Regions from separate parts of the Homo sapiens genome. Here regions 1 and 3 are each linked to region 2. Evidence: promoter capture Hi-C in 16 types of primary human blood cells and fetal thymus (Javierre and others, 2016). All regions are on one chromosome and are shown on one strand. Each heading gives the region's core, a stretch centred on a gene start or on the middle of the fragment in contact. The rest is flanking DNA. Distances are from core to core; before and after follow the strand shown. Region 1 overlaps LOC105378418 (a long non-coding RNA gene). Region 2 holds the start of ACTA2-AS1 (ACTA2 antisense RNA 1). Region 3 overlaps LIPA (lipase A, lysosomal acid type).

Evidence for each region. Contacts are between HindIII fragments. The CHiCAGO score rates a contact against its expected background, and 5 or more counts as called.
Region 1: a contact is called between a fragment that was not itself captured here and the fragment with the promoter of ACTA2-AS1 in region 2, in 1 of 17 cell types (activated CD4 T cells). The highest score is 5.8, in activated CD4 T cells.
Region 3: a fragment that was not itself captured here is called in contact with the fragment with the promoter of ACTA2-AS1 in region 2 in 3 of 17 cell types (total CD4 T cells, activated CD4 T cells and total CD8 T cells); the score reaches 5.9 in total CD4 T cells.

What each region holds. Positions count from the first base shown.
Region 1 is chr10:89,186,721-89,190,193 of GRCh38, forward strand. The region is part of intron 2 of LOC105378418 (a long non-coding RNA gene); the gene reads left to right. Among named protein-coding and RNA genes, the nearest start is that of CH25H, 19 kb to the right of the region's middle. The HindIII fragment of the contact is 941 bases long and covers 1,673-2,613 here.
Region 2 is chr10:88,931,309-88,934,585 of GRCh38, forward strand. ACTA2-AS1 (ACTA2 antisense RNA 1) reads left to right here and starts at 1,376. Exons shown (of 5, transcript NR_125373.1): 1 at 1,376-1,651; 2 at 2,333-2,578. RefSeq lists an enhancer at 967-1,066. The HindIII fragment of the contact is 5,161 bases long and covers 174-3,277 here.
Region 3 is chr10:89,243,909-89,247,368 of GRCh38, forward strand. It overlaps LIPA (lipase A, lysosomal acid type), which reads right to left. Exons shown (of 10, transcript NM_000235.4): 3 at 1,768-1,885. Among named protein-coding and RNA genes, the nearest start is that of LIPA, 6.1 kb to the right of the region's middle. The HindIII fragment of the contact is 1,558 bases long and covers 1,044-2,601 here.

The DNA.
Region 1 (3,473 bases), core at 893-3,392, 260 kb after region 2:
GAACACTGCCTCTAAGTCTTTAAATGGTTTAAACACTCACAAGTGCATTAAGGCAATTTGTCAAGACAAACTCAAAGGCAGTAGTTCACTTTTTGCCTGTTTTGGCCTCTTCCTGCCAAATCCAGCCAATTTCTTTCACGGTAATTTTTGGAAGCTGGCAGGCAGGTAGAAGCATGTGGAAAGCAAATACTCAACTAATAGAACAAATGCAGGCATATGAATTACCATGACATTGAGAAAGTCCCACCACATGGTGAGAGGTGGTGTGATCAGACAGATTCCTTTAGGTCATTTACTCAGATTTATAAAAGCATTGAAAGCAACTCCAGAATGATTGAAAGAAGGCTGAGGTGAGGATATGGTTATCAGTAAAATCTTCTTGACTCTGAACAAAACACATTACAGGATCCAGGGCCTCCTCATATAGCTCTGCAAGTTGAGCACTCCACATCTCTAGGGGGTGCCATTCACATTACCGCCTACAAAAATGACACTCCCTGGAGTTGTTCAGTGTACAACCTGCATGGCTGTACATGGCTGACTTAGAGAGCATATTATTGGAGAGAGGAGAGAGGAGGTGATGGGTGGGGAAAAAACGCTTTACTTACAAACTGAATTTGTACCCTGGTTTTCCACATACACTCTGGGTAGTTATGGGTAAGTCATGTAATCTCTCTGAACCTCAATTTCCTCCTTTGGCAATTGTGAAAAAGATTCTATAAGGTTGCTGGGTTAATGAGGGCTAAATGAGATGGTGTAGACAAAAGTGCCTGATAAATGGAAGGAACTTATTAAATAATATTTATTTGTAATGACTTGCAGGCTGCCAAGCAGATACTGGAGGAGGCAGGCATCCTTTATTTAAAAGAAGAAAAATAAGAATAAGGAAAATACCCCATATTTAAATGGTGCTTTATGTATTACCCTCAAAATAACCTTTTTAGTAGGTACTATAGTAGTTTGATGGTGCAGATTAGTTATGTCACTTTTTCATAGTCACAAAGTTAGTAGGTGAAAAAGCTAAAACTCAAATCCCTTCTTTTCATTAGAAGTCCAGTGTTCTATCTCTAAATGATTTAGCAAGAAACAGAGGAGGTTGCAGAAGGCATTTGAATAAAGCTCTATTGGCCAACTGGGGTTGACTACTGAGCTTCCTTGGCAATGGCTTTTACAGGACTAACTAAAATCTTTTTAAGATATATCCTTTCTTCTCATCAGCCACCTTGGGACTGCTTTTGTATAATCCAGGGATAGGAAAAGAGAAATCAGCTCTAAGACCACACATGACTACCAAGATGGAAACAGAAACATGTGAAATTTAAATGATGCCTCCAAGCTAAATTACTTTTGTTTTGCAAGAAAATATGTTTTGTGCTTTCGTCTAATAATAGATATACTTGATATGCTATGATTTGAACCAGTTCAACAACTGCTACGACAAAGGCTCAGTTTCCAAGGGAGCTTGCAATTTAATCATATTCCTCTGTGTGACCTTACTCTAAGTTCAAATCCCCCCTCCACACCTAAAATAACATACTAGTTAAAATTGAGAGCACTGCAGCCTCATGTTTGGGTTTTTATTCTGCTATATAAAACTTTGTGTGAGGTTCTTCACCACTTTGTGCCTCCATTTTTTTCTCCTCTTTAAAAATAAGATGGCATTTACTGAATAAGCTTTTAACAGTGAAGGAGTTTACATGTAAAAAAGCAAGTAGAAGAATGGTTGTCACACAGTAGTTGCTTGGTAAATCAGGAGTGCATTATGATCCTAAGTTTTTGTATACCTCATGTAAAAATATACCTCACAGAGTTCAAAATAAATGAAGCAAAAATTGATAAAACTAAAAGAAGAAACAGACACATCTACAATTATAATCGGAGATTTCCAAAACCCACTTTCAATAATTGAGAGAACAAGTAGAAAGAAAATACGGATATAAGAAACATGGAATACACTTCAATCAACTTGATGTACTAAACAACTACAGAATACTTCATCCAAGAAGAGAATACATATTCTTTGCAAGTATTGTTATAGATTGAATGTTTGTTTCCACTCCAAAAACAAAAAAAAAAATTATTTTGGAGCCCTAAGTATTGAAGCTCTAACCCCCAATGTGATAGTATTTGGAGGTGGAGCCTTTGGGAGACAATTAAGTTTAGATGAGGTCATGAGAGTGGGGCTCCCATGATGGAATTTGTGTTCTTCTAAGAAGAGGAAGAGTGACCATCGCTTGCCCTCTCAGCATCATGTGAGAAGGTGGTTGTCTGCAAGCCAGGAAGGGGACCCTCACCAGAAACTGAATTGGCCAGCACCTCATAGCCTCCAGAACTATGAGAAATAAATATCTATTGTTTAAGCCAGCCAATCTATAGTATTTTGTTATAGCAGCCCAAGCTGACTCATACAGGCACACGTGAAACATTTTCCAAGATAGATCATATTCTCAACCACAAACAGCCTTCAGAAATTTTAAATTATTCAAAACATACAAAGTAGGAGTTGAAATGGAGGGTAAGAAACTCAAAAAATTATCCCTTCTTAAAGGTAACGGAAAAACTATCAAAAACTATCAGAATCAACTTTTATTGGAACTTTGGAAACTAAACAAAAGCTTGCAAGAACCAGGAAAATGCTTAATGAATAAAAATTGGCTGACTCTCAATAAGAACAGATAACTTTTTGTCCTTTTAATTTACCCTGGCTTCATGCCCCATTTCCCATCTCAACAGTTGCCTTAAAGATAACATTCTGCATTCCTATTACAGGTACTGGTAATGGCAGGAGCAGAATGCACTTTGTTCCCAAAGAACTTTGGTCATTTGTTATGACCAGTTTGGTGTCTGCTTGGAGGATAAGCCCAAAAAGCCTGCCTTTATCTAACCTAATTTGGATTCACCCAGTGCTGCTGCTTGGGCAATAGATAGCAATTGGGCAAGCAATTAACTAACCGAAACCTTGGGAGGAAAGACTTGAAAGGAAAAGCTTAGGAGAAGCTGTCTCAAAAAAAAAAAGACAAATATTTTTATAAGAGACAAAAATGATTGGATTATGATAAAAGATTCAATTCTTCAAGAAGATATAGCTATTCAACACACATATGCACCTAGCACAGATCCCCAAAACGTGTGAAGCAAAAACTGACAGAATTGAAGGGAGAAACAGTTTAACAATAACTTCAAAACCCCACTTTAAATAATGGACAGAATAATTAGATGGAAGATCAGCAGGGAAATACAAGACTTTTTACCTTTTAAAAAATTATTTCCATATGTTTTTTGAGGAAAAGGTGGTATTTGGTTACATGACTAAGTTATTTAGTGGTGATTTATGAGATTTTGGTGCACCTATCACCTGAACAGTATACACTGAACCCAATTTGTAGTCTTTTATCCCTCACCCCCTTCCCACCCTTTCCCCCCCACCTCCAGAGTCCCCAAAGTCCATTGTATCATTCTTATGCCTCTGCATC
Region 2 (3,277 bases), core at 126-2,625:
TTGTGTGTGTGGTCCAGTTCTTTGGGGTTCTCTTTTTCCCAGGTATGCAGCACTTTTACATCTCTGGGCCTCTGCTTGGAACACATCCCATGCAGGTCCTACTTCCCCTTCCCAAACCTTAACCCCTTCTAGCCCCCAGCCCTTTTTTTTGTCTACTCAATTCTTACCCTTTAAGCTTCTGCTTAAGCACTATCTTCTCAGGGAGGCAGCCTCTCCTGAGCTCCTGGCTCAAGTTAGAGCCCATGGCTATAAAAGCCAGTACCCCATATAATTCTTCTTTTGAACCCCTGACAATGTACCCAACTGCTTATTTAGTGCCCATCTTCCTCACTTGGCTGCAGGTTCCATCCAGGCAGAACCTTGCCTAGTTCTATTTCCTTGACACTGCTCTCTGTCCTAGCTCATAGTGCTCTTCAGACATTACTTAAGTTGACTCTGCTCTCCCAGGAATAAACATTACTTCATACTCTGAAAAGGAAGAACCCTATCTCAGGCTGCCCCATTTTCTCTCCCTCTCTCTTTTTTTTTTTTTTTTTTGGCTGTCTCTTTCTGAATAAACTGAGCTGCGCTGCAGCAATGGCTTCTGGTTGCCTGCAAGTGTGTGTTGGTCCAGACAGCCTCCTCCCTAACTACAGTCAGACGTTCTTCTCCAAGCTGTTCTGTTAGAAATTCTTCTAAAGAGAATTTCCTAGCTACACAAATGATACCACATTAACAACAGAGGATTATTATTATTATTATTATTATTATTATTTTGAGGCGGAGTTCCACTCCTTTTTGCCCAGATTGGAGTACAATGATGCGATCTTGGCTCACTGCAACCCCTGTCCCTGGGTTTCAAGCAATTCTCCTGCCTCAGATGCCTGAGTAGCTGGGATTACAGGTGCGTGCCACCACGCTTGGCTAATTATGTATTTTTAGTAGAGATGGGGTTTCACCATGTTGGCCAGGCTGGTCTTGAACTCCTGACCTCAGGTGATCTGTCTGCCTCGGCCTCCCAAGACAACAGAGGATTATTTTTAAGTAAATAATGCCTCTTCCCACACATCTGCTCACAGTAATGGCAGCATGATGTGAATTAATGTCATTAGAAACCCATGCTGTCCTCCAGAGTTGCAAAAGCCTGTCATAGGAAAATTTTATAGTCATAGAAGGATGTTCCCCTCCTTTGAGAGTCTGGTTTGCTATTGTTAGAGGAGAGAAGAGGATTCAGAAGGCTGCCAAACCTGTATGTTGCTGGTTTTGTCTCCTCTGGAGATTGGTGTGACGCTCATGAAGGGGACTCAGCCACCTGTGCAAAGCCCAGCCCTTTATTAAGTCACTGGGCATCTCATGGAGTCAGGGGATGAATTACTGATAGATGACTGGGAGGAGGGTGCTTAGGCACTGCAGTTGAGTGGCTCACAAGGAGCTAAAATTTCACTAATGCGTATTCAGTGGGTGGTTCTGGTTTGCCTGATTTTTGCCTCTGGGCATGGCTGTTTCAGCCTGAGAGGCTGTTCCAAGAATGTTGCTTTACTAGGAGCTCATGCCGCCTGGTGGTAAATATGAAGTACAGCAGTGCAACAGACCAGTTTTACTCCAAGGAAACCCTGTAGAGATGACAGCAATGGTTGGTGATTTCTGCCTCAATTATGAAAGTGATCTGGTGGCAAGTATCTGCACACTAATCCTTAAGTTTAAATCTAGTGGCTATGAGGTGCCCCTGCATGGCAAGCATGAATTTGCAGCTGGAAGATTTCCCTCGATCATATTCCAGTGGTTCTTAAATTTTGATGTACATAAGAATCACCAGGGAAATCTGATTGAAGTTCAGGTTTCCAGCTTCAGCTCCAGAGATTCTAGCTCAGCGGGTGTTAGATGTGACCCAGGGCTCTACCCATTTAAAATGAGCTTCCGATGAGGTTGGTCCGTGTAGCCTATTCTTTGGGAAATGCTGGCCTAATGGCTAAAAACATGAATTGGAAACCAAGCACAAGAAGGAGCAAGCTGATACTTCTGCCAGCAGCATGACATTGGGCTGCTGCTAGCCTCAGTTACTCTTCTGTAAAAAGGCAGTAATGGCCAGGTGCTGTGCCTCACGCATGTAATCCCAGCACTTTAGGAGGCCAAAAAGTGGGAGGATCGTTTGAGCCCAGGAGTTCAAGACCAGCCTGGGCAACATGGCAAGATCCCATCTCTATTTTTTTTTAAAGTCAGGCAAAATTCACAGGGCTGTTGCAGGAGAAAATGGGATCCTAATATAAAGAGCTTGATTCAGGCTCTGGTCATGGCAGGCACCAGTACATCCCAGCTCTTATTATTTGTGGTATTAATCCTAATTATCTGCAAGTTACAGGGCCAGAGAAGACTAGGGGAGTTCGGGTTTTCTAGACCAAACAGACACTCAGTCCTGGGCCTGGAGGTCTCTGCAGTGAGGTGCTGCCACAGACAGAGCCACCTTAACTCCTCAGGACAACCAGTGGCTTCCGACACACACTATGCACTGGAGGGCAAGCAGCTCTCAGCTTGGGAGCAACTGAGGATGGTGAACAGCCTGGGCAAGGAGTGCTCTGAGGCTAAGACCCTGAACAGCAGGGTCAGTATTTTTTTATATCTTTGTGCCTTTCAGGCCAAATGGAAGTTGGTAGCTCTCCTATCCCATTGCATTTCTAGAGCAATCTCTGTCTCCTCAATTATAAAGTGCGCTGATAATACTTCCCCAGATAGTTGTGAAGAACAGCTGAGAGATGATATGTGTAAAACCCTTACCTGATGATTGATGCTAATGGTCCTTGGAAAGTATTGTTCTCTCTCTCATTCCTTCTGGCGTGAATATATCCATAGTATCCTTTTCAAAGACAGATAGATCAAGAGAAGGGAAACAGATGGTCCAGATGTGTAGTGAGATTTTAAGGCAGTGTTTCTCAATGTTTTTTAAAAAATCCATGTTTCCCTCAATAAACATAAAAGTCAGACCACCTGTTTCTATATGTATATATGTATGTGTATATATATGTATATAAGTTTAATACATAGTATATGCATTAAAAGTCATATCTTGTATATTAAAAGTCACACACATATATATGTATATATGTATGGGAAATGTATCTATATGTGTGTGTGTGACTTTTAATATACAAGATATGACTTTTAAGATATATAGGCACAGCGGCTTATGCCTATAATTCCAGCATTTTGGAAAGTCAAGAGGAGAGAATTGCTTGAGCCTAGAAGTTCAAGGCTGCATCAAGGCTGCAATGAGCTATTATTACATCATTGCACTCCAGCCTGG
Region 3 (3,460 bases), core at 573-3,072, 310 kb after region 2:
ATTTTAAGAAAAATAATATAAAGCATTTTTCTTTATACAGTGTCTGAAATCAGTATACAGGGGTTATTCTTTGGGGGAAAAAAAAGGAAGGAAACCAAGATCATATGCTCGCTCTAGCATAAAATATATGTTTTGAGTGTTTTGAGCACAGGAAAAACTAAAAGCTCTCACTATAACTCATCACTCATTTTATAACATATTTATAAAAAGGAAGCTTAATGGCATATATCTGTAAAGCATAAAAATCTCAAGAGTTAGAAATCAAATTTCAAAAAAAATGGTTGTCGTGGCCACCTAAACATTATTAAAATCTTATTACAGCTAGAACACATGGAAGAAAAAAGTTAAACTAGGATAAATTAAGAAAAAACAAAGCAAATAATAATACAATGCTCACATTAACACAAAGGGTGTTTAAGTTTGCTTTGAATAACAATTTGGGCAGGAATTGAGGCAAAGGTGGCTCTTTTGCCCGTATAACACTTAAATTGAAGAATAAATAGCTATCTAACTACCTTAATCTAAACCTTAATTTCCCCAAGAAAAGTCTCCAGAAACAAAAAAATGTTAGAGAATAAGCTACATCTTACTTGAACCTGGGAGGCGGAGGTTGCAGTGAGCCAAGATTGCACCATTGCATTCCAGCCTGGGCAACAAGACCGAAAATCCGTCTCAAAAAAATAAATAAATAAATAAGCTACATCTGGAGAGATAATTGAATAAAGATTAGATCCTTCTTCTGATAACTGCTTAATAATTTCAATCAGTCTGTCTAGAAATTCCTTTATCTGCACTGGAAACTGCAGTTTTGCTTGAGTTATAAAATGAGAGAGAGAAAAAAGATATACATATATATGTATATATATACTTTTTAAGCCAAAGCTACAAGAACTTTCATATATTCATAGTGATAGTAATTATCAGGACACATGCACATGAAAATCAGCTTGGCAATATATATCAAAATCACAAATGCATATATCCTGTGATCCAAAAATTCTACTTCTGGACATGTATCATGTAAATAAACTTGCACACACAAAAGCTTATTTACAGCAGCAATATTTGTTAACAGAAGACTGAAATAGCACAAATATGCATTAATAGGACACTTGGTAAATAAATAATGATACAGTCATATAGTGAAATATCATGCACTTCTGGAAGATGTGCTTTATGTATTGTATGGAAAGATCTCCAAGATATTAAGTAAAAAATTCAAAGAACAAAATAGTGCCATCTTTTGCATTCAAATGGAGGCAAGGGAAAAATAAGAATCTGTGTGTGTATTTGTTTCTAATGAGATTTTTGGAAATAAAAAGATTTTAAAATGAAGTTATTTCAAAAAGATACACAAAAAAGCAGGAAGTAGGGAGTGAGAGAGAAGGGAGGCATTTCACTGTATGTCTTCTAATTCTCTGATTTTTAGATTATGTGAATTCAAAAAAATTAAATAATTTTTAAATAGCAAAAGCCATCTATTTAATGCTCAAAACATTTCATTAAATACACTTCCTTAAAAAAACAAAGCCTCAGAGATTTTAGCATATCCTCAAATGAATCTGGCCTTTGAACAAAAAATTAGATGACTCTTGTCCTTACTTCTTTAAAAGAAAATTATTTTTCTTTGCCTTGCAAACCTCAACACAGTTAGTGCTTTCGTCTAAAAATAATCCCATTTCAATGTTTTTAAGTTAAATCTGAACTTGGTTACTAACACAAAACCCAGAAGAATTCTGGTTTTTACTTTTAAGAGCCTTCCCATACCTTTGTCAGAATGGTTCTTCCTCCCATGAGGAATTCGGTTAAGGCACAGAATATATCCATCTTCTGTCTCAACTAGGTATTCCTCACTAGGGAATCCCCAGTAAGAGATAATTTCACTCTGTAGAGAAAAAGGACGATGGAAATTGGGTGGACAGAATCTGAAACAGTCTCCCACATTAACAAGCAAAGGAGCAGATAAACTATGTTCTCCAGGCTTTAAGAAAGCATTTGTCATTGAAATTTTAGTCTGCTAAATCTAGTAGCCAACTTCTCATCACAAGAGTAAATCCTCCCTTGTTTCACGCTTGTGTTCCACCTACCGGTGTCTGGTTAAACTTCAGTTTCATCATTCTAGCATGTTTTATACCAAATTTGCCTAACTTTACCACATCTTGGGCCTCTTTGTTTCCATCCTGCCTACCGGGCACAAATAAATGCTCATTTCTTTCTTTTCTAAATATCCCAGCTAGAACTGTCAATGTATAAAACACTTTCTTTGTTTTGAGAGATCCCCTGCTGGCCAATAAAGTATAAAAAATATTAACTTGTTTTTATCAATGGACTAAAATAATTACATAGAATGTCAAGGTGGGATGGAAGAAAAGTTGAACAAAATAGGGAATTATGGTCACATTCACTTTTCTATAAGGAAGGATTCATGGGACAATTGTTAATCAGGAGCTCAGTGGGATATGGATAATTCAATTATCCAGGGGATTTAATGTAAATAAGTGCACATACCCTCTCTACCATAAGTACTTGAAAGAATTTAATTTTATCATTCTTATTTAAAAAATTATTTTAAAAGTTGGAAAAATTGGGAGGCAAAAGAAAAGCTTTGAGCTAAGAAGTAAAACTTAACTTTAAGACCCTGTTATCAGGTCATACTCTCCTGGCTCACTGTGAATTTCTCTGCGAGTCCCTAAGCTTGCCTGATTCTTCAGCTGGGTCACTGCAACATCTATTTTAAAGTTGCTGTTTTCTTTAATAATTTGTACTTTACTGATATTTTGTGCCTAAATGAGGTATTTCCAGATTTTATTGTTTACTTACGATTAATAACTTTCAGATGTTTTAATTAGTCGAGTGGTTATTTTTGCATATTTTTTCTAACAAAATTTAGCTCAGATACTTTGACTTCTGTATAGAAATATGTTCCCTGGACATTCTTAATCACAACCTTTGTTCAATGTATTCTAAAACCAGCTCTCAATAGCGGTAATGTTCTTGCAAAGTTTAAATACTTTTTTATAGTTTAAACAAACTTAGTGAGACTTAAAAATGAAATGAATTAATAAAAAATCATAATTTATCTTATTAAGAAGTATATATAACATTAAACTGAGGTTTGTTGGCTACATATTACCTGGTGAGAAAAGCCTAGCAAATTGAATCTAAGATTCAGAGAAATTGGGCTGGGCACGGTGGCTCACGCCTGTAATCCCAGGACTTTGGGAGGCTGAGGTGGACAGATCACCTGAGCTCAGGAGTTCAAGACCACCCTGGGCAACATGGTGAAACCCTGTATCTACTAAATACAAAAAAAATTAGCCAGGCATGGTGGTGCATGCCTGTAGTCCCAGCTACTTGGGAGGCTGAGGCTCGAGAATCACTTGAGCCCCTGAGGCGGAGGTCGCAATGAGCCGAGATCACACCACTGCACTCCAGCCTGGGCGGGCAGGTGACAGAGTAA